6 separate regions of the Homo sapiens genome follow, and all the other regions are linked to region 4. Evidence: promoter capture Hi-C in 16 types of primary human blood cells and fetal thymus (Javierre and others, 2016). All regions are on one chromosome and are shown on one strand. Each heading gives the region's core, a stretch centred on a gene start or on the middle of the fragment in contact. The rest is flanking DNA. Distances are from core to core; before and after follow the strand shown.

Region 1 (4,643 bases), core at 1,392-3,891, about 15 Mb before region 4:
TCTAGAAATATTCTGAACCTTACAAAGAATGGGTTACATCTTTACGTACTGACCTGGAAAAGTATTCATGATTATTATGAAAAGGACAAGACGCTGTCAAATGTCTGTATGGGGGTAAAAGCTCCTCCAAACACATGCAAAAAATGCTTTCTGTGTACAGGTTGTTTGAGCATAAAGGAAGAAGAAATACACATACTGGTTATCTCAGAGATTTGAGGGAAGGGAGGAAATTGTTTTCATTTTATTTCACTGTTTCAGTGAAATATTTCACTGGTTTCAGTGAAACATGTAATTTTAGAAAATTTATTCTCAATAAAAAAATTTATTCTCAATAATGGTTAATACAATAACTCAGAAACAGCATTAAAATGAGACCAAAATTTACACTTTAGTTATCCACTTTCTCACTTAAAAACATTTGATTTTCAAGGATTATTTAAATAAATAAATACTAATGAAACTGGTGGCTTACCAACTTTTTCCTTAAATAAAACAAAGACAATGTATATTTCCATCAACAAATTTCATGATGCTAGACTAGGATGGGGAGGGAGGAGAGGAAACCTGACTGGCTTCTCGCCAGTATGAAGAGTCTGATGTAAGTTAAGTTGTAATCTATGATTAAACGCCTTCCCGCATTGATAAGGTTTCTTTCCAGAATGAATTCTCTGATGGTGTGAGAAGCTTGAATGATAGCTAAAGGCCTTCCCACATTCCTTACATTCATAGGGTTTCTCACCAGTATGAATTCTTTGATGTTGAATAAGGTGTGAATGAAGTCTAAAGGCCTTACCACATATCATGCATTCATGAGGTTTCTCACCAGTATGAATTCTCTGATGTCTTTTGAGGTGTGAACACTGTCTAAAAGTCTTCCCACATTCCTTACACTCATAGGGTTTCTCACCAGTATGAATCCTCTGATGTAGGGTTAGTTGTAAGCCATCACAAAAAGCCTTCCCACATTCATGACATTCATAAGGTTTCTTGCCAGAATGAATTTTCTGATGGTGTGAGAAGCTTGAGTGATAGCTAAAGGCCTTCCCACATTCCCGACATTCATAGGGTTTCTCACCAGTATGAATTCTCTGATGTATAGTAAGATGTGAGCGATGCCTAAAAGTCTTTCCACATTCTTTACATTCATAAGGTTTCTCTCCAGTATGGAGTCGCAGGTGTTCAGTAAGTTGAAAGCCACGAATAAAAGCCTTCCCACATTGCTTACATTCATAGGGTTTTTCACCAGTATGAAGTCTCTGATGTTGAGTAAGCTGTGATCGCTGTCTAAAGGCCTTCCCACATTCTTTACATTCATAAGGTTTCTCACCAGTGTGAATTCTTTGATGTAGAGTAAGTTCTGAGCCATAATTAAAGGCCTTCCCACATTCGTTACATTCATAGCGTTTTTCACCATTATGAATTCTTAGATGTTTAAGTTGTGAGCAATGAACAAAGGCCTTCCAACATTCTTTACACTCATTGCATTTGTCACCATTTTGAATTGTCTGTTGTTTAAAAAGGCATGGTGTATTAACAATTTCTGTGCATTCTTTACATTCAGAAAGTTCTTTAGAATGAGTTCTTTTGTGGTGACTAAAAAATAAATGGTAACTGAAGATTTTTCTACACTTTTTACATTCAGAGATTTTCTCTCTATCATAAAATTCTTGAGTGAGTAAAGTATGTTGGCTAAAAATGGGCATGTTTTCATGGTTAATCATAAGTTGTCTAAAATAACCCTCCTCTTGTCCCTGATGTTGCTCAAAATGACAGTTGCCTTCCCAGATAGCGCTGAAAATTGATCTCTCAGGACTATGGCTTTTAAATTCTTCCATGTTAACCCACTGGGATAATTCTGTTTCATAAATATCCCTTTTTGGAGATAACTTCTGGGGCTCATCTCTGGATGCCAAGTCTGAAAGATAAGAAATATATTTTAACTCCTGGTTTTGTACTATAAGAGAAATAAAATATCTATGGTAGCAATGAGAGATAACTGCAAATAATTCATATAAGAAATAAAAGGCTTGGAGAACTCTTAAATGGGTAAAGGAGCACAGGGAAATGAGAGCACTCAAATGAAGTAGTTAATTAGGGAAATAATTCAATGGTGCTGAAATTTTGATCCACCTCTGAATTACCTTGAGAGTTTGTTGCAATTATGGATGTTCAGGAAACATTCTAAATCAACTCAATCAGAATCTAAGAGAGTTGGTCTTAGAATGAGGTCAACTGAGTCAGAGTTCATATGTTTAACACTATCAGGCCAAAGGTTTATGCAGCAGATTGTCAGCTGTTGCCAAATATCTATTTTTTTCCCTTTTTAAAAAATATCAATTGAACCCATGGCTTTTTATTTGAGAATAAAGCTGCCAATATAAACTCTGCATTTCCCAAGCTCTTTCACAGCTGAGAATGCCATGCAACTGGGTTCTGCCTAAAGAAATACAGAAATATTATGTAATACCATCTGAGTTCTTTCGTTAAGAGCCAGGTGGCCCACGCCCTATATTGCCTGTTTTCCCTCTTCCTCAACAAAGCTGATGGCAATATTGATTTGCTGTCATGTCTATCAAATAATGGTTTTGCAGAGTAGATACCTTTCTAGCTTGGATTTTAATGCGAGAGAAAATTAAATTTATATGCCTGGGTTATAGACATTGTATCAAAAAAAGAAAATTAATTTAAACATCTATATGGTTTCAATCGCTATTGTTCTGGGTCTCTGTCACAAGCAGCTTAACCTACAAATACAGCTTCCCACAGAAATTTTAAAACTTCAGCTCCTAGGCATGAGAATATAGGGCTTCTGCTAACCAATATAATCTCATTTTGAGTCCAATTCCTTTTTATTCATTAAGCTATAACCAAATTAATCTGTCAACAATTAGGACATGCCAAAGCCTTTTCCTATGTTAGAGCTTCATAGCTTCTTCCATGTGCTAAGAATCTTTTTGCCTAGATTTTTTGTATAGCGGGCTTCATTTCATCTAAGTCTCAGAGTAAAAGTCACTTCCTCAGAATTGTATTCCTGATAATATTATCTAATGAAGTCCTTCCTGAAGTACTACTGGAATTACATATTCATTTATTAATCTTTTTAATATTTGGCCAGGCATGGTGGCTTATACCTGTAATCCCAGAACTTTGGGAGACCTAGGCGGGTAGATCACTTGAGGTCAGGCATTGGAGACCAGCCTGGCCAACATGGTGAAACCTGTCTCTACTAAAAATACAAAAATTAGCTGGACGTGGTGGCGGATGCCTGTAATCCCAGCTACTCGGGAGGCTGAGACAGGAGAATTGCTTGAACCGGGAGGTGGAGGCTGAAGTGAGCCAAGATCATGCCACTGCACTCCAACCTGGGCAACAGAGTAAGACTGTCTCAGAAACAAACAAACAAACAACAAAATATATATATATATAATATATATATATGTTTTTTTACCCATAAAGCTACTCAAGGATAGAGAAATCACTATAAAAACAACCTTTACAATATAATAAGTATTCAATAATCAGTTGCTGAATGAATGAATTATTAAGGAAAAGGAATTAAGATGAAGAGAAACAATACAAAGATAACAATTGACAATCATAATCATTTAATGCCCTTAAATTTGTAATAACTACTGAACATCTCTCCATGCTTCTATTCACTCCTACATCGACTGCACTGATTTTATATATAAACACATACATAAATAAACCATGTACTTGCTTATCTATAACAAGCCACTCCAACTGAGTGGCTTAAAACAGTAAGTCATTTATTATTATTATTACTATTGCTGTTGTAATTATTAGTGAAGACCAAGTCATGCTCTGTCACCCAGGCGAGAGTGAGCGCAGTGGTGCAATCACAGCTCACTGCAGGCCCGACCTCCTGAGCTCAAGAAATCCTCCTACCTCACTCAGCTTTTGGAGAAGCTGAGACTATAGGGGTGTGCCACTATGCCCTGCTAATTTTTAAATCATTTTTTGTAGAGAAAAGGCTCTCACTTTGTTGCCCAGGCCGGTCTTGAACTCCTGGTTTCAAGTGATTCTCCTGCCTCAGCCCCTCGAAGTGCTGAGATTATAGGCACGAGCCACCACACCAGACCCATTTATCATTATTGTCTTTCAGTCCTGAGGATTAACTGAGCTCAGCCAGGCATTCCTTACTTGGCATTTCTCTAGTGACAGTCACACACTGGTCAGGCTGGATCATTCCAATGGCTTCCTCCACCCACATGTCGGGTACCAGGCCTGAGGAAATATGTAAAGCTTGGGACTGTAACAGCTGTGATGCCTGGGGCTTTCTATCCTTATGTGGTCTCTCTACATGGTGTGTCCAGCATAGCTGTTTCAAGGTAAGAGATGCCCTCTTACCTGGCAACTCCAGACTCCAAAAGCATATGGGGAAGTGCAGGCAGGGAGGGCGGGCATATGAGCATATGCCAGGCACAAGCTGTCTACTTTTATGACCTAGCCTCAGAAATCACAAAGTATTTCTATTTATTGGAAACAATTCACTTAGGGCTGTCCCATTTTCAAAGCAGGAAGTTAGACTTCTTTTTTTTTTTTTTTTGGTTTGAGGACTGTCACAGAAGCACAGAAGTGGCAGACATGGTGTGTGTGTGTGTTTTTGGTGGGGGGGGGTG
Region 2 (4,249 bases), core at 716-3,215, about 16 Mb before region 4:
TCTGCTACAAAAATGGGGAAAGACATAAACAGGCAATCTTTTAAAAGACTCTGAAATGTTCAAACACACTCATAATGAGAGAAATAAGAAAACAACAATGAGGGCTGGGCACAGGGGCTCATACCTGTAATCTCAGCACTTTGGGAGGCCGAGTCTGGTGGATCACCTGAGGTCAGGAATTTGGGACCAGCCTGGCCAACATGGTGGAACCCCATCTCTACCAAAAATACAAAAATTAGCTGGGCGTGGCGGCACGCGCCTGTAGTCCCAGCTACTCAGGAGGCTGAGGCAGGAGAATCACTTGAACCCAGGAGGCGGAGGTTGCAGTGAGCCGAGATCGCGCCACTGCACTCCAGCCCCGGCAACAGAGCAAGACACTGTCTCGGGAAAAAAAAAAAAAAAAAAAAAAGAAAAGAACACTGAGGTACTATTTCTCATCTATTAGACTGGTGAAAACTAAAAAACATGACAACATATTCTGTTAGGTGGGCTGTGAAGGGAAACAGACATGCTCATACACAGCAAGTAGGAATAAAAACTGGTACAACAGTTCTAGAGAGGAATTTTGCAATACTTAACAAAACTACAAAGCACTTACCTTTTGACCCAGCAATACCGCTTCTAGGAATCTACCCTAAAGATACTCCTCCAGCAATAGAAAAATACATATATACAAGGTTATTGCAGCACTGTTTCTAGTAACAAAATATTGTAAATGACCTAAATATCCATACGTAGGAAAGCGGTTCAATAAACTATGATAAATCCACAGGCTGCAGTATTATGTAACAATTAGAAAAGAATTATGAATATCTCTTTAACTGCCTGAGTGTTATCCAGAATGTATCATTAAGAGAAAGAAACAATGTACAAAAGAGTGCCTAGAGAATGCTATCTTTAATGTAAAAAGAATATAGGTAACTCTTCATTTGTGCAAAAGAAACACAGCAAGGATAAAGCAGAAACGAATGAAGTTGAATATATACAAGGAGTCTGTGGGAACTAAGTTAATTTTTATTTATTTATTTATTTATTTTGAGACGGAGTCTCGCTCTGTCGCCCAGGCTGGAGTGCAGTGGCGCGATCTCGGCTCACTGCAAGCTCCGCCTCCCAGGTTCACGCCATTCTCCTGCCTCAGCCTCTCCAGTAGCTGGGACTACAGGCGCCCGCCACCACGCCCGGCTAATTTTTTGTATTTTTAGTAGAGACGGGGTTTCACCGTGTTAGCCAGGATGGTCTTGATCTCCTGACCTCGTGATTCGCCGGCCTCGGCCTCCCAAAGTGTTGGGATTACAGGAGTGAGCCACTGTCCCCTGCGAATGTTTTCACATTCAAAATAGTGTAGCCTGCTACAATCAACCAGGATGTGGGGGAACCCAAAATGCAACAAATGATCCTTAAATGTAAGAAAAATGTAAGAAAAAAAAAAAACATACTGAAAAGAGTGGCAAAGAAAAGAACTAAATTGAGTAACTTTGGAAGATGTTTGTTTACTATATACTATAAGCTTAAAGAAAAAGAGCTACACAGAGATTCTCTACTGTAGTTACTAAATACTTTTTACACAGGTCCAGGTTGGCAACTCTGAACTAATTTGCATGTATTCTAGGATAGAGCTAATTATTGATTCTGAGAAGCAGGTTTCTCTCTGTTGGAAAATGAAGTAACAAGGAAATGGCCAAATTTGATGGGAGACAATTCTCCATGGGTCTTGCATGTTTCTGCGTATCTTGCAAGAAGAGGTACTAAGTGTTTTTGTTCTGCACTATTTTACCAAGTTGTTTATACAGTGAACAGCCTTGGAAGACAGAGTCGGTCTCCTTCTACAGCAAAGGGTAGGCATTCTAACTATCCATTATAAAAAATTCAGGTTTCCTAAGGTCAAGGGAACACACAGATACCTGTGTATTTTGCATAATCCTGGGTGTATGACTGAATCAGTACCATGAGAATGTAGATATTCTGAAGATTGCCATGAGCAACAAAGCATCCTTTGTCTCAGACTCAGAAGTCTCATGTTTTCTGAACGTATCTGTGAAACTGACAAGCCAACTTACTAGCTTACAACTAGGGTAAAATCTCAGATAGTTCATAGTTCTTGGGAAAAGAAAATACCCTGTGGTACTGGAATAGAATTAAACATATGAGTGTAAACTGGTGTGTTTTTAACATATAAACAAATAAATAGACATAAATGTGCATGTAGACATTTGTGTATTTTCTCACTCTCTCCACTGACCAGAACCAGAGCAAAGACACACCAGTAGCAATAAGCACACCAAGTGCCCAGATCTTGGTTTATAAATTCATTCTCCAATAAAAGAAATTAATGCTGCTTGGAGAAATTGCTGAGCCCAGAGATGGAAGAGGGAAAATACAAGATGAACCTGGAACATCTTATGTCCCAGAAAGCGGGGTTGGGGGGAAGCTTTAAAAAATGATCACACGTTGAAAAGACACAAGAGCCAACTTAAGGAGCTTCTGATGGCCAAATATGGGAAAATTTGAACAGCAAAATAAATAAATAATAATAATAGAGAATAGAATAAAATAAATATCCATGAGTCCATAGGTAAATAATTGAATAAACAAATGGGGACAAAAGAAAAACTTCAGCTGAATTAAATGTAAAGGAGTTTCATTGAACAATGAACGATTCGCAAATCAGGCAGCCCCCAGAATCACGGCAGATTCAGAGACACTCCAGGGATGCCTCGTGGTCAGAACAAATTTATAGACAAAAAAAAGGGAAGTGACATACAAAAATCAGAAGTGAGGTGGAGAAACAGCTCAACTGGTTACAAGTTCTTGTTTGCCTTTTTTTTTTGAGACGGAGTTTTGCTCTTGTTGCCTAAGCTAGAGTGCAATGGCACGATCTCAGCTCACTGCAATTCTCCTGTGTCAGCCTCCTGAGTAGCTGGGATTACAGGTGCACTCCACCACACCTGGCTAATTTTTTGTATTTTTAGTAGAAATGGGGTTTCACCATGTTGGTCAGGCTGGTCTCCAACTCCTGACCTCAGGTGATCCGCCTGCCTCGGCTTCCCAATGTGCTGAGATTACAGGCGCCAGCCTCTGTGCCCAGACAGTGTTTGCCTTACTTAACACAGTTTGAACACTCAGCAGTGTATGAGTGGTTGAAGTATTGCTGCTGGGATTAGCCAAGACTCAGCTTGTTACAGGCACATACACTGTTACAGGCACACAAGTTAGGTTTCCAATTCTGTCTACCTGTTAGGTTACAGTTCGTCCATAAGGACTCAAATATAGAAGTACAAAGTCCTTCTCAGGCCACATTTAGTTCACTTTTAACAGGAGCAAGAAGAGACAGCTCTTCCTTATAGTAGAATTTAAATTATCAAAGTGTAAGAAATGATAGAAGGAGAAAATCACCGCTAGGCAAACATCACAGTAATAATTGTTACAGGTAAAAATTATCAATGAATGTTAAAACTAATGCGTGAGAAAACATGATGAGAAATAGGATTTTGGCATAGTTTCTTTTTTTTTTTTTTTTTTTTGAGATGGAGTCTCGCTCTGTCACCCAGGCTGGGGTGCAGTGGCGCGATCTCAGCTCACTGCAAACTCCACCTCCCGGGTTAACGCCATTCTCCTGCCAGAGCCTCCCGAATAGCTGGGACTACAGGTGCCCACCACCATGCCCAGCTAATTTTTTGTATTTTTAGTAGAGATGGGGTTTCACCGTGTTAGCCAGGATGGTCTTGATCTCCTGACCTTGTGATCCGCCCACCTCGGCCTCCCAAAGTGTTGGGATTACAGGCATGAGCCACCGCGCCCAGCCATTTTTACATAGTTTCAAATTATTTCCCCACAAGATACTTATTCAATAAAATGGGAAAAACAGTGATTTTACAGAGGAGAAATCTGGCAAACAACACTGTTACCAAGTTCTCAAAGTTAACATTGCTAATAATGAGATATACTAATATATATATCTCCTGATATGACACATTGAGAAGAGTTCAACATCATTTCTGTGATCTTCTTGCCAAAACTGCCCAGTCTAAATCTAACCATAAGGAAACATCAGGCAAACGCAAATTGAAAGATATTCTGCAGGCTGGGTGTGGCAATCCCAGCATTTTGGGAGGCCAAAACAGGAGGATGGCTTGAAAGCAGGAGTTCAAGACCAGCCTGGGCAATATAGCAAGATGCTATCTCTACAAAAAAAAAAAAAAAAAGAAAATAGCCAGGAGTGGTGGTGTGCACCTGTAGTCCCAGCTACTCA
Region 3 (4,251 bases), core at 1,647-4,146, about 15 Mb before region 4:
AAAAAAAAAAAAAAAGTAGTACTTTATTGAACTATTTTGCGTTGTGGTAAAATATACATAAAATTTGCCATTATAATTATTTTTAAGTGTCCAGTTCAGTGGCATTAAGTACATTCACATTTTGTGCAAGAGCCTTTCTGTTTTGTTTTGTTTTGGTTTTTGAGATGGAGTTTCACTCTTGTTGTCCAGGCTAGAACGCAATGGTGTAATCTCGGCTCACCGAAACCTCCACCTCCCGGGTTCAAGCAATTCTCCTGCCTCAGCCTCCAGAGTAGCTGGGATTACAGGCATGGGCCACCACGCCCAGCTAATTTTGTATTTTTGGTGGAGACAGGGTTTCACTATGTTGGTCAGGCCAGTCTCAAACTCCCGACCTCAGGTGATCTGCCCGCCTCGGCCTCCCAAAGTGCTGGGATTACAGGCATGAGCCACCGCACCCAGCCTTCAAGAGCCTTTTACTTATTTGTAATTTAATGCTCTTTGTCAGAAAACAATCAATATTATAGCAAAGATTTATATTTTTTATCTGCTTTGATCAATAAGCTTCTGAAAGTAGTGTGATAAAATGGCCAATATTGCATTTAATGATTTCTGTTCATTTTTACTTAAAATAGTTCAAAGATACATTATTAATTAAAAAAATGCTAATAATTTGTATAATTCTTTGTACATGATTCTTTTCATAAGGATGAACAACATGTTTTCATCCCTTTAGGTGATTTTCATCTTAAATCCCTTTTGATCTGTTCCTAAATTGCAGCCCTAGCTTTCTTTTGGCTCACTCTCTTATTTTTAAATGAGGACAAAAGCAGTCCTAACCTCTGAGAGTTAGCCTCGTACTATCAATTAAGCCTCAGTGTTGCTAGAAGCTAACCTGGCAAGGGCCAGCTAATTCATGGTGTTCTCCATGGTGCTACACAAAAACAATCTCTTAGAACACCAACAGCAAACAAGACCAATCTCTGACCATCATGGTGTAAGATGATACCAAGACCACTCTGTCGTTATATTTGAGCATAGACAAAAATCAGAACATTCTTCAAACCACAAAAGTGAATAAAAGTCTCCTTATTCTGCCTAATGCAAGAGACTGCTGCTTTTTTCTTTTGAGACAAAGTCTATCTCTTTCATCCAGGCTGGAGTGCAGTGGCATGCTCATAGCTAGGTGTAATCTCGAACTCTTAGGCTCAAGTGATCCTCCTGCCTCAGCCTCCCGAGCAGGTGGGTCTATAGGCACACAGCACCATGCCAGACTAATTGTTTTTCTTTTTTTTTTTTTTGAGACAGAGGCTCACTCTGTCACCCAGACTGGAGTGCAGTGGTGCAATCTCAGCTCCCTGCAACCTCTGCCTCCTAGGTTCAAGCGATTCTCCTGCCTCAGCCTCCTGAGTAGCTGGGATTACAGGCGTACGCCACCATGCCTGACAAATATTTTTTATTTTTAGTAGAGACGGGGCGTCACCATGTTGGCTAGGCTGGTCTCGAACTCCTGACCTCAGGCAATCTGCCTGCCTCAGCCTCCCAAAGTGCTGGGATTATAAGTGTGAGCTACCGCACCAGGCCCAAACTAATTTTTAATTTAATTAAATTTTTTTTTTGGTAGTGACAGGGAATCACTACATTGCCAGGGCTGGTCTTGAACTTCTGGCCTCAAGCCATCCTCCCACCCTGGCTTTCCAGTGTTGGGATTACAGGTGTGAACGACCGTGCCCAGCCAACTGCTGCTGCTTTACCAACTGTAACTTTAGCCTCAAGCTATCCTTCCTATCTTCTAGAATAAAATTATTAAGATACTCAATCCTAAAACTGCCCAAGAGCAACTAAAGTAGAGGTTCACTGAGGTGCAGATGAGACTCTCACCACGTGACTAGAACCCTGAAATGAAATTCCACTACTTCTAATATATCCAATAGAAAGAGAAGGCATGACAATATCCACTGCGATATTGTTCATAATAGTTTCTGTATTTTACCAAACAAACATTAAAACAGCAATGTACAAAAAAGTTAATCTGCTATGCCATTCTGAAATCAAGAGAAAAAAATTGTAGTTGTTTTCATTTGTATACAGAACTAAGCAATCAAAGAAAATGAATAAAGCAGGTTATCACTACCGGGAGACACAGGTAGATGGAAGGCAGAGGTGGGTGAACCACAGTCCCATCTCTTTCACCATAATACTTTTCAATATATTGCTTTTCATATATTTCTAACTTTTGAACTAGGTATATGCATTGCCTATTCAAAAGATTAAACTATTCCTAATAAATTATCACAATATCTTCAGATGGATAAGAAATAACAATACACCCAGGCCGGGCATGGTGTCTCACACCTGTAATCCCAGCACTTTGGGAGGCCGAAGCAGGTGGATCACCTGAGGGTCAGGAGTTCGAGACCAGCGTGGCCCAGATGGTGAAACACCATCTCTACTAAAAATACAAAAATTAGCCAGGCGTGGTGGCTCGCACCTGTAATCTCAGCTACTCAGGAGGCTGGGGCAGGAGAATTGCTTGAACCTGGATGGCAGAGGTTGCAGTGAGCGGAGATCATGCCATTGCACTCCAGCCTAGGCAACAAGAGCAAAACTCCATCAATAAATAAATAAATAAATAAATAATTTAAAAAATAACATTACATCCATGAAATAAGAACGGGATGGCAATAAAAAAAAATTTAGGAAACAGGCTGGGAACAGTGGCTCATGCCTGTAATCCCAGCACTTTGGGAGGCTGAGGTGGGCAGATCACCTGAGATCAGGAGTTCGAGATCAGCCTGATCAACACGGAGAAACCCCGTCTCTACTAAAAATACAAAATTAGCCGAACGAGGTGGCACATGCCTGTAGTCCCAGCTATTTGAGAGGCTGAGGCAGGAGAATCTCTTGAACCCAGGAGGCGGAGGTTGCAGTGAGCCGAGATCATGCCATTGTACTCCAGCCTGGGCAATGAGAGCAAAACTCTGTTTCAAAAAAAAAAAAAAAAATTTTAGGAAACAAACTAGAGTTTTTAAAAATTAAAACATTAAGTTAAAATGTGGATAGTGGTAATGAGAAGCTCAATAGAAGGGCTGGAAGGCAAAAGGTGTCAAAGTTACCCAGAATGGATAGCAGGAAATACATAGAAAATAGTAGAGAAAAGAAATGGAGAAGCAACATCTGAAAAACAAGTTTCAGAAAGAAAACAGAGAAAACATTTGTGTTTGAGGAGGTGGTTTAGGAAGAAATGAAAAAATGCTTTCAAAATCTCAAACAAAAGTCACTTCTAACAAGGAATTCTATTTGCAGCCAAAACATCAATATAGCGTGATGACAAAATCAACAACAGTTTTCCTTGACAGTGCACCTCTCCACTGTCACACAGGTGGCCTCCAGAGACGGAGACATTACCCACGTGTTCATTCTTGACAGGAAGATCAAGTTTTCTTTCAGGAGCACCAAGTCTAGAGTCCAGCTGGTTCCTAAGGCCTGTCTGCCTCTGCCCTAAGGCTGTGGTGACAGATTAGAGCTATCTACTCTTGGACTGAAATTCCACCCCTTGGGACTCCTCCTCCTCACCTCATAGGAGCTGCCATGATCCTCTGGAGCCAGGGCTGAGGATTTCTGGGGTGAGGTCCAACTAGCTGGCATGGCCACACTGGATCTCAACCCTTTTTGTCTAGGGTGCCTGAAGTTTAGTGGTCATCTGTGAACTCAGCAGAGCTGCTCCGAAGAGGTGGGCTGGAGTCTGGAGGAAGGTCTGGCCCAGGGACTCCCCAGAGACACCCAAGAACCTAGAAAAACAATGTCCACGTAGTCATTCAACATTCACTACATAAACACTTCCTGGATACACCAAGGTGCAGGTCCCTGCGCTAGAAACCAGAGCAGTGGTTCCCAAACGTAGGTATGCATTCAAGTCACCTGGAGGGCTTGTTAAAACATAGTTTAAAATTCTCAACTTCACCCCTTCGATGGGTCTAAGGTAGGCCCTAAGAATTTTATTTTCTAATAAGTGCCCAGGAAATGCTGATGCTGCTGGTACAAGAACCACACTTTCAGAACTGTGGAGAACAGTGCTGAAATATGGGAAAAGCCATGAAATTTAGAGTAACATTACTGCAGATTTGAACTGCAGCTGTACCACTTTTCAACAATGAGAATATAAAGAAGTTACTCAGATTTTGTTTCAGAAATAAGGATGAAAATGCCTGTGTCACAGTTACTAAGATTAAATGAGATTATGCTTTTAAAGTACTCAATGCCTCCCTGCCA
Region 4 (4,294 bases), core at 1,558-4,057:
CAGGCAAGGTGGCACCTGCTGGTAATTCCAGCTACTCGGGAGGCCGTGGCACAAGAATCACTTGAGCCCAGAAGGCAGAGGTTGCAGTTGAGCCAAGCACGCCACTACACTCCAGCCTGGGCGACGAGAGCAAGACTCTATCTAAAAAAATTAAAAAAAAAAAAAAAAATCAATAAATGGTACTGGGGATGGGGACAGAAAGTTAAAACCCCCCTCACAACATACACAAAAACCATTTTAGAATCAACTGTCAATTTCAATGGTAGAAACATATCAATAAAGCTTTAAAGAACATTAATATAGGAGAATCTCTCAATGTTATTAGGGTATGGCCAGATATTTTAAAGAGGCCACATAAAGCACCCTATAAAGCAAACTATATCCTGCTAGGGGAACTGTAAGTGGTACAACCACTTTAGAAAACAGTTTGACATCTATTTAGACGGAGTTTATACACACTCTATGAAGCAGCAATTTTCCTCCGAGGTGCACATCTAGATATACATCTCTGCCTCCCCCATATGAGAGCACATATGAACCAAAAGACATTTACACAAATTTTCACACATGCATTATTCTTAATAATACAAGCTTTAGGTAATACAAATGTAATTAATAATAGAAAAAACTGCTATATTTTACATAATGGAATGTGATAGAAAACCTATTATACCTTTGGTCCAGCCTGCAAGAATGCTTTTTACATTTTTGAAAGACTGTAAAACAAAAAGCAAATTAGCATATGCAAGAGACCATATGTAGCCTGCAAGCCCTAAAATATTTACTGTAAATTCGCCTGATCCTTGTCATTGAGCAAAGAAAATATACTCAGATGCAACAGGAAAGACCCTCACCAATAATGAGCAAAAGAAGGCTGACACAAAAAAAGAGTGATGTACAATTCCACTGATATACAGAGTTTAAAATAGGCAAAACTGTATTAACTACAATGATAAATAATGATTAATTATATAAAGAAAAGCCTAAAATACTTTTCGGTGTGAGAATGGAAAAAGACTCACAGAACACCACTGGTGTGCTGACCATATTCTATTTCTTGACCTGGGCAATGACTGCTTATACATATATTGCCTCCATGATAATTAAATTGTACATTTAAAATATATAAATGTAGAAAAATTAACAAAGTAAAGGAAGAGATCAACCATACCAAACAGTTTACCTCCAGGAAAGGTGTTAACTCCAGACAACACAACGGGTGAATTTTACAGGTGGGTAATAAAACAAGAACGTCCACTAACACCCTATTTTCCTACTTTATACTGGAAAGTTGAGCCAATGCATTAAGATAAGAATGAATTATAAGCATTACAAAGTAAGACAGAAAATTAATGTTATTTTCAGGCGATATCATCACGAACATGGAAAAAGAGATTCAAGAAATTACATATTTAAAAAAGAAAATGCTCCCTCAGAAACTCCCAGGCAGATTTTCACATACATAGTTGGCTAGAATTGCACCATACGCCTAAGCTCATTTCCATGTCAAACCTATCACTAGCAATGGCAATTGGAACCAGCAAGATTGGCTAAGACCAACAAGGCCTTACTAAGAAACTGGGATTTGGGTCGCCTTGCCACAGGGATGAATACTTCACGAAATGGAGATTCTGTTAAGAAAGTGTGAATATAAGGCGGGCAAGCAACACTCACTATATATTAAGAAGTGAAGGCCGGGCGCGGTGGCTCACGCCTGTAATCCCAGCACTTTGGAAAGCCAAGGTGGGCGGATCACCTGAGGTCAGGAGTTCGAGACCAACCTGCCCAACGTGGTAAAACCCTGTCTCTACTAAAAATACAAAAACTAGCCGGGCGTGGTGGCGTGGGCCTGTAGTCCCAGCTACTCAGGAGGCTGAGGCAGGAGAATCGCTTGAACCCGGGAGGCGGAGATTGCAGTGAGCCGAGATCGCGCCATTGCACTCCAGTCTGGGAGACAAAAGTGAAACTCCGTCTCAAAAAATAAAAAAAATAAATAAAAAATAAAAGAAGTGAATGCAGAGGTTGGCAACATTTTCGATTTTGCCGGCCACGAGGTCTCTGTCACAACAACTCAACCGCTGCCTTTGCAGCCATAGACAATATATAATCGGAGGGTATGACTGAACTTGACCCCCCGATCTGTAAATAGCCACCCCAAGGATCAGAAGAGTAGATATATGGTTTCGAACTAATGCTGGGGGCTGTGTCGCCTTTTGCCCCAGTAACCGAGGTTCGAACCTCAACCCAGGACCCAGGGCTCCAAAGTCTCGAAAGCTTCAGCCCTCACAAGCCTTTGTACCACAGACACTGGCCCCATGCCTCTTACTCATCCGAACCACGGACCAGACACTCTACAGCGATGGACATCCTCCCAGACTCCAACATCACTGAGTTCCAAATTAAATCCTGAACCCGAAGCAGACGCCGCATCGATCCTAATCGCCACCTCCATCCTTTACAAGCAGAGTGATCCATACCTTGACAGTTAGGACACGGCCGTTGATCACTACAGACCCTTAGTCACTGTACTCACACCAAAGGCACGCGGACCACAGACAGGGGGATCACAGACTCCCACCAGGTACCTCCCAAATGCCTATACCCCGGCGCTCCCCAGTCTTCCTGCCAAAAACTATGTGGTCCAGGGTACACCACGTCCTCAGATCTCCCAAACCTTCCACTGAGACAAAACCTGAACTAGGACAAAAAACTTTCAGGGACAAAACCACACACTGACCTCTATTTTCTCCAGATACACAAGAAGGGCCTCAACGTTACACTTCCGTAAACTGCTCCTACTTCTGGAGTCCTCGCACGGGTTTATGGTCCACCTACGGCGGCCGAGGAGAACCTAAAATGTTTAAAAGAGCAAGGACAAGCGCATTTACGGCATTTCCTACTCTGTAAAATGGCCGCGCCCATAGCCGTGGCTCCTGACGGCAGCCATGTTTGAAAATTGGACGCACAGAAGGCAGTGGCAGGTTTTTGAGCCAGGAGCCAGGGAAGAAGAGAAGTCACTGAAATCGCCTCGTTTCCTGGCACTTAAAGTCTTGCGAAAGGGGGCAGATTTTCAGAGACTCAGGCTTTATCAGGCAAATATGGGGCAAGCTAAATTGCCTTTAGCGCTTTTCCATCCACTTTGTTAAATTTAAAAAAAAAGGTTTTGAAAAAGACAAGTAACAGTGCAGCCAGGTGTAGGTATCCCAGAGAATGAATTGGAAATGGAAAAGGTAACAGATCAGGTAGAAAGGGAAAAGGCAACACATCAGGTAGGCAGACACCCACGGGAAAGCGTCTGGCGAAAATTAGCTTGCAGGAAGCGGTTTTTAAGAACAGAAAAATAGCAGGTATTCGGGGGGGCGGGTGGTGAAGAAAGAAAAAAATTATAATTTTTTTTGAGACGGAGTCTTGCTCTGTCGCCAGGCTGGAGTGCAGTGGCGAGATCTGGGCTCACTGCAACCTCTGCCTCCCTGGTTCAAGCGATTCTCCTGCCTTAGCCTCCCAAGTAGCTGGGACTACAGGCACGCGCCACCACGCCCAGCTAATTTTTGTATTTTTAGTAGAGACTGGCTTTCACCATGTTGGCCAAGATGATCTCGACCTCCTGACCTCGTGATCTGCCTGTCTCGGCCTCCCAAAGTGCTGGGATTACAGGTGTGAGCCACCGCGCCTGGCCTCGAAAAAATGATTATTATTTACAAAAAAGAAGAAGAAGAAGGAGGAAGAGGAGGAGGAGAAGGAAGAGAAAAGAGGAGAAAAGAAGAGAAAAGAGGAGAGGAGAGGAGAGAAAAGAGATTTTGAGAATGAATTACGATGTGAGCCTGGCCACGACAGACTAAAGGAATTGGGCCTCCTAGAAAGGCCACTTTTAGTAAAGGTGCCAATGGGAAGAGCAGAGCCAGAATTGAGAGTATAAAAATATTGTTAAGAGTTTTTGACAAAAGTGCCAAGACAATTCAATAAGAATAGTCTTTTCAACAAGCGGCACTGGGATAATTGGATATCCACATCCAGAAAAATGAGTTAGGACCCTCAAACCATACACAAAAGTTAACTCAAAATAGATCATAGATCTAAGTTTAAGAGAAAGTATAAAACTTAGAGAAGGAAAAGGGAGATAATCCTCATGGACGTGAGTTAATTCTGAGAGGAGAGTAAAGGATGACCCACAAAACAAAATAAAATTAATAAAGTGGACTTGATTTTTTTTTAAGTTTGTGCTTCTAAACACAACATTTAAGAAAGTGAAGTGGGGCACGGTGGCTCACACCTGTAATCCCAGCACTTTGGGAGG
Region 5 (4,487 bases), core at 1,655-4,154, about 15 Mb before region 4:
ATACTTTAGCATTTTGTTTTTTAATAATTTTGATGCTTAAAAGTTTTGGTACATACCCTTTCATTCCTGTTTGCTAGAGTTTCATTGTGGAAAGCTTTTGAGTTTTAACAAATGTTTTTCTCCATCTGTGGGTGATTTTTACCTCTTAATAGGTTTTAGTTTTTCACATCTTAATGTGGTAAATTACATACATTTTCAAATGTTGAACCAACATTGCATTCCCAAGTTAAACCCATCTTTATATCTTTTCCACTTTTTGCTAGTTGCTGTTTGCCAATATTTTGTTTGGGTGTTTTGCATCTGTATTTATTAGTGAATTTGATCTTCAGTTTTCCTTTCTTGTCAGATTTCGGAATCAAGGTTGATTAGTCTCGTAAATTCTCTTTTTCTTCTTTAGAAACATTTGTGTAAAATAAAAATTATTTGTTTTTTGAATGTTTGGTAGAACTTTGTTCATTTTGGCTTGGAATTTTTATTGTTAAAAGAATTTAAACTAATCATTCAATTTGATATGTTCTAAAATTCTAGGTTTTCTATTTCTCCTAGAGGCAATTAGGGTATTTTTTTCTAAATATTTTTAGTTTTGATGTAAGTTTTCAAACTTATTAGATGAAGTTGTCCATTATTTTTCTGGTTCTCAATGATTTCTTGATCCGTGAATTATTTAGAAGTTTGAAATTGAAGGCTTTTGTTTGGTACTTGTTTAATTGTATTATGGTTAGAGAATGGGATCTCTTCAATATACATTTATTGAAAGTATTTTGAGACTTGCTTTATTTCTTAGGGCTAGTTTTGGTAAATATTCTTTGTGTCCTTGAAAATAATATGTATTTTCTGGTTGTTGAATACAGTGTTTGATATTTGCTCATTAGGTTAAGCTCATTAACTGTGCTGGTCAAATCTTCTGTGTCCTTATGAATTTAAAAAAAATGTCTTTGAGCCATCAATTACTGAGAGACATGTTAAAGAAACTTCTACTCTGGTGGTAAATACATAAATTTTTTTCTTGTAATTGTAACAGCAGTTTTTTTTATATTTTGAAGGTATTTCATTTGGTCATATGTTTTTAGAATGTTTTATTTTTCTAGTGAATTCTTATATTATTGTTACTCTCTTTAATTCTAGTGACTATCTGATTAAGCAAAAAGAATTCACTTAATATTGTTATAGCTATATTTGCCTTTTGTTAATATTTACTTGATGTAGTTTTTTCCTACTCCTTTATTCTCCGGCTTGCTGTGTGTTTCTCTTATAAGCAGTATTTGGATAAACATTTTTTAAAATCCAGTCTGATAACCTTTATCTTTTAACCAAATGATGGTGGTGGTCAGTTAAATTTTTTGGTACTATTAATAGATTTGGATTTATTTTCCACTACCTCACTTTCTTTTATAAATTGTGCCTTTTCAAATTTTTCTTATTTCTTGGTTTTTCTCCATCTCCTAATTTGAATGTTTTACAATCTATTTCTATTCTGTACTGGTTACCTTAGAAAATCTAACATTTATAGTCACCTTAACAAAACCTAAAATTAATTCTAATCTTTATATTTGACCACTAAAAATACAAGAACGTAGCCAGGCACGGTGGCTCACGCCTGTAATCCCAGCACTTTGGGAGGCCGAGGCGGGTGGATCACGAGGTCAAGAAATCGAGACCAGCCTGGCTAACATGGTGAAACCCCGTCTCTACTAAAAATACAAAAATTAGCTGGGCGTGGTGGCATGCACCTGCAGTCCCAGCTACTTGGGAGGCTGAGGCAGGAGAATCGCTTGAACCCAGGAGGTGGAGGTTGCAGTGAACCAAGATCGTGCCACTGCACTCCAGCCTGGGCAACAAGAGCAAAACTCCATCTCAAAAAACAAAACAAAACAAAACACCAAGAACCTTAGACTGTCTTAACTTCACTTACCCTCATTTCAGTTATTCCTTGCTTTTCTTAAATTATTATTTTGCTTTATGAAGTTGTATAATAGACCATTATTATATTTATTTAATTTAGACCATATTATATTTAGTGTTGTTTAGATTTATCCACTTTTGGCTAGGTGTGGTGGCTTATGGCTGTAATCCCAGCACTTTGGGAGGCCAAGGCAGGTGCATCACTTCAGTCTAGGAGTTTGAGACCAGCCTGGGCAGCATGGTGAAACCCCGTCTCTACAAAATGCGAAAATTAGCTGGGTATGGGGTGTGTGCCTGTAGTTCCATTTACTTGGGAGGCTGAGGTGGGAGGGTCGCCTGAGCCCAGGAGTTCAAGGTACAGTGAGCTGAGAACGTGCCACTGCACTACCGCCTAGGTGACAGAGCAAGGCTCTGTCTCAAAAAAAAAAACAAAACAAAAAATTATCCATGTTTGTCATTTTCCCTGTTCACCATTCTGTCCCAGAACTTTTTCCTGAAGTAACTTCTTTATAAATATTTATATACTATTCATATCAACTTTTATTGTTGTTATGTTTTGTTCATTTATATGATAGTTTTGCTGTCATGCATAGAAGAAGCTTTCTCTGTCAGTCATAGATTGACAGATTTTTTTTTTTTTTGAGATGGAGTCTTGCACTGTCACCCGGGCTGGAGTGCAGTGGTGCAATCTCGGCTCACCGCAACCTCCCCAACCCGCGTTCAAGCAATTCTCCTGCCTCAGCCTCCCGAGTAGCTGGGATTACAGGGCGTGCCACCACGCCTGGCTAATTTTTTGTATTTTTAGTAGAGATGGGGGTTTCACTATGTTGGCCAGGCTGGTCTCAAACTCCTGAGCTCGTGATCTGCCCGCCTCAGCCTCCCAAAGTGCTGGGATTACAGGCGTGAGCCATTGTGCCCGGTGACAGATTATTTTTATGAGTGCTTTAAAGATACCATTCCATGCTTTTCTGGCTTCTGTTCTTGCTTTTGAGAAGTCAGTTTTCATTAATATATTCTTCCTTGCAACTTTTAAGAACTTTCTTCTTCTTGCCCTGGTTATTCTGTATTTTCAATGTGATGTATCTAGATGTAAATTTCAGCTGCTGTAGTTGGGATTTATTGTGATTTTTTTTATCTGACCATTAATGGACTCTGGGTAATTATCAGCTATTATCTCTTCACATATTGTCACTTTCCCATTCTCTGTGTTTATTTTTCTTAAAACTCCAGTTACATGTGCCTAAGACCAGACTCACCAGGGATAAATTGATGCTCCCAGCTTCAGTTCCACCTTACTTACTTGAAAGTGCCTTCCACAGTCTGTTTGACCTCTGAGAGTTTACCTTAATTTCTTGCCAGCTTGGTAATGCAGCTAAAAGAAAGTTTTTCTATTTCTACAAAATTGTAAGCTTTTTTGTACCAGGAAGATTTGTCATTATAACTAGTCTGCTGTATTGCCAGACTACTTTAGGTACCTCATATAAGTGGAATCATACAGTATTTGTCCTTTTGTGACTGGCTTATTTCACTTACTGTAATGTCCTCAAGTTATATCTGTATTATAGCATATGTCAGAATTTCCTCCTCGTTTAAGGCTGAATAATCTATTGTACGTATATACCACATTTTGTGGTGATTTCATGGAATAGCAACCAGCTATTACTCCTCTACTCAAACCACTTCAATGGGTCTCCATCTGTGTTAGGCCATTGCACTGCTATAATGAAATATAATACCTGAGACTGGGTAATTTCTACGAAAAGAGGTTTAACTGGCTGTCAGTTCTGCAGGCTGTACAGGAAGCATAGCGGCATCTTCCTCCGAGGAGGTCTCAGGAAGCTTCCAATTATGGCAGAAGGTGAACAGAGAGCAGGCACATCTCTTGGCAAAAGCCAGGAGTGCATGAGAGATGGGGGAGGTGCCACACACTTTTAAAGGACCAGATCTCATGAGAATTCGCTATCATGACACTACCAACAGGATGGTACTAAACCATTCGTGAGGACTCCACCCCCACGATCCAGTCACCTCCCACCAGGCCCCACCTCCAACATTGGGGATTACATTTCAACACGAGATTTGGATGGAGCTGTATTACCATCTGTTACGGTTTGGCTCTGGATCCCCATCCAAATCTCATCTTGAATTGTAATCCCCATGTGTTGAGGGAGGGACCTGGTGGGAAGTGATTGGATCTTGGGGGCAGTTTACCTCATGCTGTTCTCATGATAGTGAGGAAGTTCTCAAGGGACCTGATGGTTTAAAAGTGGCAGTTTCCCCTGCTTTCTCTCTCTCTCTCTCTCTCTCTCTCTTTCTTTCTCTCTCTCTCTCTCCCCCTCCCCCCCTTTCTCCCTCTCTCTGTCTCTCCTGCCACCTTGTAAAGAAGGTGCGTGCTTCCCCTTCATCTTCTGCCATGATTGTAAGTTTCCCGAGGCCTTCTCAGCCATGCAGAACTGTGAGTCAATTAAACTACCCAGTCTCAGGTAGTGTCTTTACAGCAACGTGAAAATGTTCTAATACACCGTCCCTCTCAGAGTAGAAGCCAAATTCTTTAGAAGGCCGGTGAAGCTTAAATAATCTCATTA
Region 6 (4,710 bases), core at 2,118-4,617, about 14 Mb before region 4:
GGGTGTCGGGCTGGGGGATGGTCAGGTCTTTCCCTTCCCAGGAGGCCATATCTCAGGCTATCACATGGGAAGAAATCTTGGACAATACCCAGGCTTTCTTGGGCAGAGGTCCCTGTGGCCTTCCTCAGTGTATTGTGTCCCTGGGTACTCGAGACTGGAGATTGGTGATGACTTTTACCAAGCATACTGCCTGCAAACACATTTTTCACAAAGCACATCCTGCACAGCCCTAAATCCATTAAACCTTGAGTCAATACAGCACCTGTTTCTGCAAGCACAGGGTTGGGGCTAGGGTTACAGATTAACAGCATCTCAAGGCAGAAGAATTTCTCTTAGTACAGATCAAAATGAAGTTTCTTATGTCTTCCTTTCTCTACATAAACACAATAACAGTCTGATCTATTTTTCTTTCCCCCACAACAAACAACACTCAGGCCCAGGTAAGGTCCTTTCTGCTCCAGAGCAAGGAAGCGCTGTGCCTCCTTTTAGGCCAAATTTGGGGCCCTGTACCCTTTTAAATGATGACAGTGTCTAGGGCCACCACATTTAGTTCAAGGCTTGGACCTATAGGCATAAGCTCACTGGAACAGGTGAGAGCTGATGGTCACTGCAGGTTGGGTTAGCCCAGAGCCTTGGAGCTAGTCTGCCTAGAGGCTCCTTTCTCGAATTCCTCTGCCTAGAGGAATCACACTGTCATAGGCCATAAATGCTAATGATGACCTTGGCAGGGTCCTATCTTTCTGCAGACTATGATAAAGTTCTGTTACTTCTTTTCTCACTCCCTCTGTTCCCTGGCCCACATCATTACTCAATACTCTGAATAGTATGCTTTTTCTTTTAAAAATGAAGGTATAATTTACATATAATAACACAAATAAGTGTTCACTTTGATGAGTCTTTGACAATTACGTAGGCCCATGAAACTACCACATAAAACAAGACATAGAACATTTTCCTCACCCCCTAAATTATCTTCGAAGTCATAGCCCCAGCCAGGCACAGTGGCTTACGCCTGTAATCCCAGCACTTTGGGAGGCTGAGGCATGCGGATCGCTTGAGGTCAGGAGTTTGAGACCAGCCTGGCTAAGATGGTGAAACGCCATCTCTACTAAAAATACAAAAATTAGCCGGGTGTGATGGCGCATGCCTGTAATCCCAGCTACCTGGGAGGCTGAGGCACGAGAATCACTTGAACCTGGAAGGAGGTTGCAGTGGGCCGAGATGGAGATCTCACCACTGCACTCCAGCCTGGGAGACAGAGTAGAGACTCTGTCTCAGAAAAAAAAAAAAAAAAAAAAAAAATAGCCCCTGGAGTCAACTGCTTTCTGATTTATAACTCAATAGATCTGTTTTGCCTGTTCTTGAGTTTCTCATGACTGGAGTCCTACAGTGTGTACTCTTCTTTTACCTGTTTCCTCTTTCCATGTGTACTCCTTCCCCAATCAAGAGGTCAGCTCCTTGAGTAGCCTCTATTTTTACTCGAGTACTCAGTCTTCTTTTTCCCAATTCAGTTGCTGAGATATATTTAGGTTCTAATAAATTTTGGGTAAAATTTAATAATGATGCTAATGATCCTTTACTTCTGAATAACACAGAAACACCCAGCTCTGAATCCTTGTTGCTTTATTTACTCACTGAATGATTACGGACAGGTCACCTCACCCCCGTGTTGCAGTTTCTTTTGAAGCGTGATGATAACACTATCTTTACAATGTTTGTGGCAGTCTTTAATGTTATTCCAAAATATCGCCAGCTCTTCCCATCCCAGAATTATGGTAGGATTACATGTCTGCTATCACACTCCTGGGTGGCCATGTGACGTCTCAAAGACTAGTGAATGGAAATGACATGTATAGTTTTTGAGGCAGAACGTTTAATTCCCAGCAAAAGACCCTCAAAGGCTGTCTTTCCCTCGGCCTTCATGAGTGACAATTTACCAGTTGTGGCTGCTTTATTGGTCTAATCCTAGAATAAGAACAGCCCTTGAAGTGAGCAGGCCAGTGATCAATCAGGCATTTAATAGGCACTTTATAAATACTCATTTTACTTCAATATTATTATTTTTGTTTTTTTAGAGACAGAGTCTCACCCAGGCTGGAGTGCAATGGCACAATCTTGGCCCACTGAAACCTCCACCTCCTGGGTTCAGTGATTCTCCTACCTCAGCCTCCCGAGCAGCTGGAATTATAGGCGTCCACCATGCCGGCTAATTTTTGTATTTTTAGTAGAGACGGGGTTCCAACATGTTGGCCGGGTTGGTCTTGAACTCCTGACCTCAGGTGATCTGCCCACCTTGGCTTCTCAAAGTGCTGGAATTACATGTGTGAGCTACCATGCCCAGCCTAAATGGTGATTTTAAATTAATTACTATAATCACTTCAAAGTGTTGTCATATAAACCACTTATATTAAATCAAATGAAGCAAGGACCCTTGACCTCTTTGTTAAATTTTAAAAATCTAGCAGAGCCATAGGCCTTTAATTTTTCCATCGCAAGGAAGAAGAGGAAACTGGTAATAATCTCCTCTGACAGAATAATCTCGCAACTTTAGGAACTTTATTTAAAGAATTCAGAAATGGGGTTGGGCGCGGTGGCTCACACCTGTAGTCCCAGCACTTTGGGAGGTCGAGGCAGGCGGATCACCTGAGGTCGGGAGTTCGAGACCAGCCTGACCAACATGGAGAAACCCCGTCTCTACTAAAAATACAAAATTAGCCTGGCGTGGTGGTGCATGCCTGTAATCCCAGCTACTCAGGAGGCTGAGGCAGGAGAATCGCTTGAACCCGGGAGGCAGAGGTTGCGGTGAGCTGAAATTGCACCAATGCACTCCAGCCTAGGCAACAAGAGCGAAACTCCGTCTCAAAAAAAAAAAAAAAGAAGAAATGTCAATTGTAGCATTTTAACACAGCATTGAAGTTATCTACTGATGCATAGCAAATTACCCTAAACTCAGAAGCTTAAAACAACAAACATGTAGTATCTTACACACTTTCTGAGGGTGAGGAATATAGGAGCTGCTATAGCTGAGTGCTTGTGACTGTGTCTCTCACGCAGTTGCAGTCAAACTATTGGCAGGGGCTGCTGTCATCTCAAGGTTTGACTGGGGCTGGGAGATGTGCTTCCAAGGGTGATACACTTGGTTATAGGAAGGCCCCAGCTACTCCCAGGCTATTGGGTGGAGGGCTTAGTTCCTTGCTACCTGGGCCTCTCCATAGGCTGTCTCGGTATCCTCATGACATGGCAACTAACTTCTCTCAAAGTGGGGGCAGCAGCCTTTAAGACAGAACTCAAGGTGCCATTTATTATATTTAATCTCAGCAGTGACATCTATCACTGCTACTGCATTCTATTAGTCTCACAGTCCAACCCTGGTACAATGTGGGAGGGAACTACATAAGAGTGTGAATAGTAGGAGGTAGGAATCATTGGGAAACATTTTGAGGTCAGTTATTGTATCAGTTGCTAGGATGACCAGTTGGAATTAGGATTTTTTTAAAAAGCCATTTTCATAAGACAAGGCAATCTTTTCTAGAGATGTTCCAATACCTGTGATATGCGGAGCACTGCGCTAGGTGGTATTCAAGGCAGGCCTGTAGTGAATGCTGTTGGACCCAGCCACCACCCCTGAGCAATCATATGCAGACCGCTGGCTTCTTAACTGCAGACACCTACAGACTCAGCCTAAGACTTTCCCACGAGGCAGGCTCGAAGTGCTGGAGCTTTAACACCTCTGGAGTGGCCCTAAAACAATTAGGAAGAGAGATGGTGTAGACATATGTAAGCTTCATCGGCCTGGTGGTTGTGAAAACTTGGAAGTGGTTTCTACACAATCCCCCAGAGGTCCCAAGCTGACTGAGCCCTCATTGATCCAGAGCTAATCTGCTCACCTATGCACTGTATATTCGTTCCCATCGCTCCCGTCTCACTTCTCCATCCCCCACCTACCAAATAAACTGCTTGCACTCATTCTTTCCTCAGGTCGGCTTCTCGGGCAAGCCTCCTTAGGTAAAAACCTTGCTTTCAACATTTCCTTTCCATTATGCGCTAAGAACTCTGATCTCTTCCCGCTGCGGCAGCCCCGCCCTTTCCTTGCGGCTCCGCCCTTTCCGTGAAGTCACGCCCGTCCTTAGGCTGTCTCTGTCTCCCTAAGAGCGAGTCTCTTCGCTGCTCTCTAACTCCTAGAGCTGGCTCAGAAAGAGTTTCACATTGCCATAGGGGAGCTCCTAGGAGAGGCTGCACCCATTGCACGTAAGAAGCGGTAAAAATGTACGCGGCCATCTTACCAGGCTGCCGGAGACAAAGAAAGCTCAGCTTTGATGTCTGGGCGCCACCATGTTGGCCACAGGAGGTTTTGGCATCTGAGATGCTGAGTTAAGAGCAGAGACGACATCTCTGTTTAGGGATCCAGGGACACTTCCTTCTCCTTGTCCTAAAATAGCCTTATCTTTTGGTCTAGCAAAGGGCTTAATCATCCGTTTTACGGCACAGTTTTAAACATGGCCGCCCCAGGTAGGAGTCAAGTGGGCGTCGCCATCATACCTCCAATTACAGCTTTGAGAAACCCAGAATCCTGTTCACTGGAAGGTTGCCGGGTGGCGGCTGACAGCCTCAAAGTCGCAATTGAGTCTGCGCACCGGCCATTCAGGATGGGACGACCTTATACCGCGGTGAGGCGGCGTGGCAGGACGACCAATTTCAGATTCAGGGCGC

What was found. The method cuts DNA at HindIII sites, captures the fragments that hold promoters and counts their contacts. A CHiCAGO score of 5 or more calls a contact.
Region 1: a contact is called between a fragment that was not itself captured here and the fragment with the promoter of ZNF350 in region 4, in 1 of 17 cell types (non-activated CD4 T cells). The highest score is 6.3, in non-activated CD4 T cells.
Region 2: a fragment that was not itself captured here is called in contact with the fragment with the promoter of ZNF350 in region 4 in 2 of 17 cell types (non-activated CD4 T cells and total CD4 T cells); the score reaches 5.9 in non-activated CD4 T cells.
Region 3: a fragment that was not itself captured here is called in contact with the fragment with the promoter of ZNF350 in region 4 in 3 of 17 cell types (total CD8 T cells, non-activated CD4 T cells and activated CD4 T cells); the score reaches 8.4 in total CD8 T cells.
Region 5: a contact is called between a fragment that was not itself captured here and the fragment with the promoter of ZNF350 in region 4, in 1 of 17 cell types (activated CD4 T cells). The highest score is 7.8, in activated CD4 T cells.
Region 6: a fragment that was not itself captured here is called in contact with the fragment with the promoter of ZNF350 in region 4 in 7 of 17 cell types (total CD4 T cells, non-activated CD4 T cells, total CD8 T cells and 4 more); the score reaches 14.0 in total CD4 T cells.

Annotation. Positions count from the first base shown.
Region 1 is chr19:36,638,129-36,642,771 of GRCh38, forward strand. It overlaps ZNF461 (zinc finger protein 461), which reads right to left. Exons shown (of 6, transcript NM_153257.5): 6 at 1-1,915. The coding sequence ends at 525. Among named protein-coding and RNA genes, the nearest start is that of ZNF461, 26 kb to the right of the region's middle. The HindIII fragment of the contact is 3,246 bases long and covers 1,019-4,264 here.
Region 2 is chr19:36,481,087-36,485,335 of GRCh38, forward strand. All of the region lies in intron 1 of ZNF566 (zinc finger protein 566), which reads right to left. Among named protein-coding and RNA genes, the nearest start is that of ZNF566, 6.4 kb to the right of the region's middle. The HindIII fragment of the contact is 921 bases long and covers 1,506-2,426 here.
Region 3 is chr19:37,203,485-37,207,735 of GRCh38, forward strand. It overlaps ZNF585B (zinc finger protein 585B), which reads right to left. Exons shown (of 5, transcript NM_152279.4): 2 at 3,556-3,770. The coding sequence starts at 3,627. Among named protein-coding and RNA genes, the nearest start is that of ZNF585B, 4.9 kb to the right of the region's middle. The HindIII fragment of the contact is 4,710 bases long and covers 542-4,251 here.
Region 4 is chr19:51,984,033-51,988,326 of GRCh38, forward strand. ZNF350 (zinc finger protein 350) reads right to left here and starts at 2,808. Exons shown (of 5, transcript NM_021632.4): 1 at 2,738-2,808. RefSeq lists enhancers at 2,273-3,148, 2,735-2,974. The HindIII fragment of the contact is 6,623 bases long and covers 2,273-4,294 here.
Region 5 is chr19:37,478,629-37,483,115 of GRCh38, forward strand. The region is part of intron 4 of ZNF570 (zinc finger protein 570); the gene reads left to right. Among named protein-coding and RNA genes, the nearest start is that of ZNF570, 12 kb to the left of the region's middle. The HindIII fragment of the contact is 810 bases long and covers 2,500-3,309 here.
Region 6 is chr19:37,502,300-37,507,009 of GRCh38, forward strand. ZNF793-AS1 (ZNF793 antisense RNA 1) reads right to left here. Exons shown (of 3, transcript NR_110723.1): 1 at 4,540-4,710; 2 at 3,547-3,741. ZNF793 (zinc finger protein 793) reads left to right here and starts at 4,640. Exons shown (of 8, transcript NM_001013659.3): 1 at 4,640-4,667. RefSeq lists enhancers at 3,558-4,349, 4,350-4,710, 4,707-4,710. The HindIII fragment of the contact is 826 bases long and covers 2,955-3,780 here.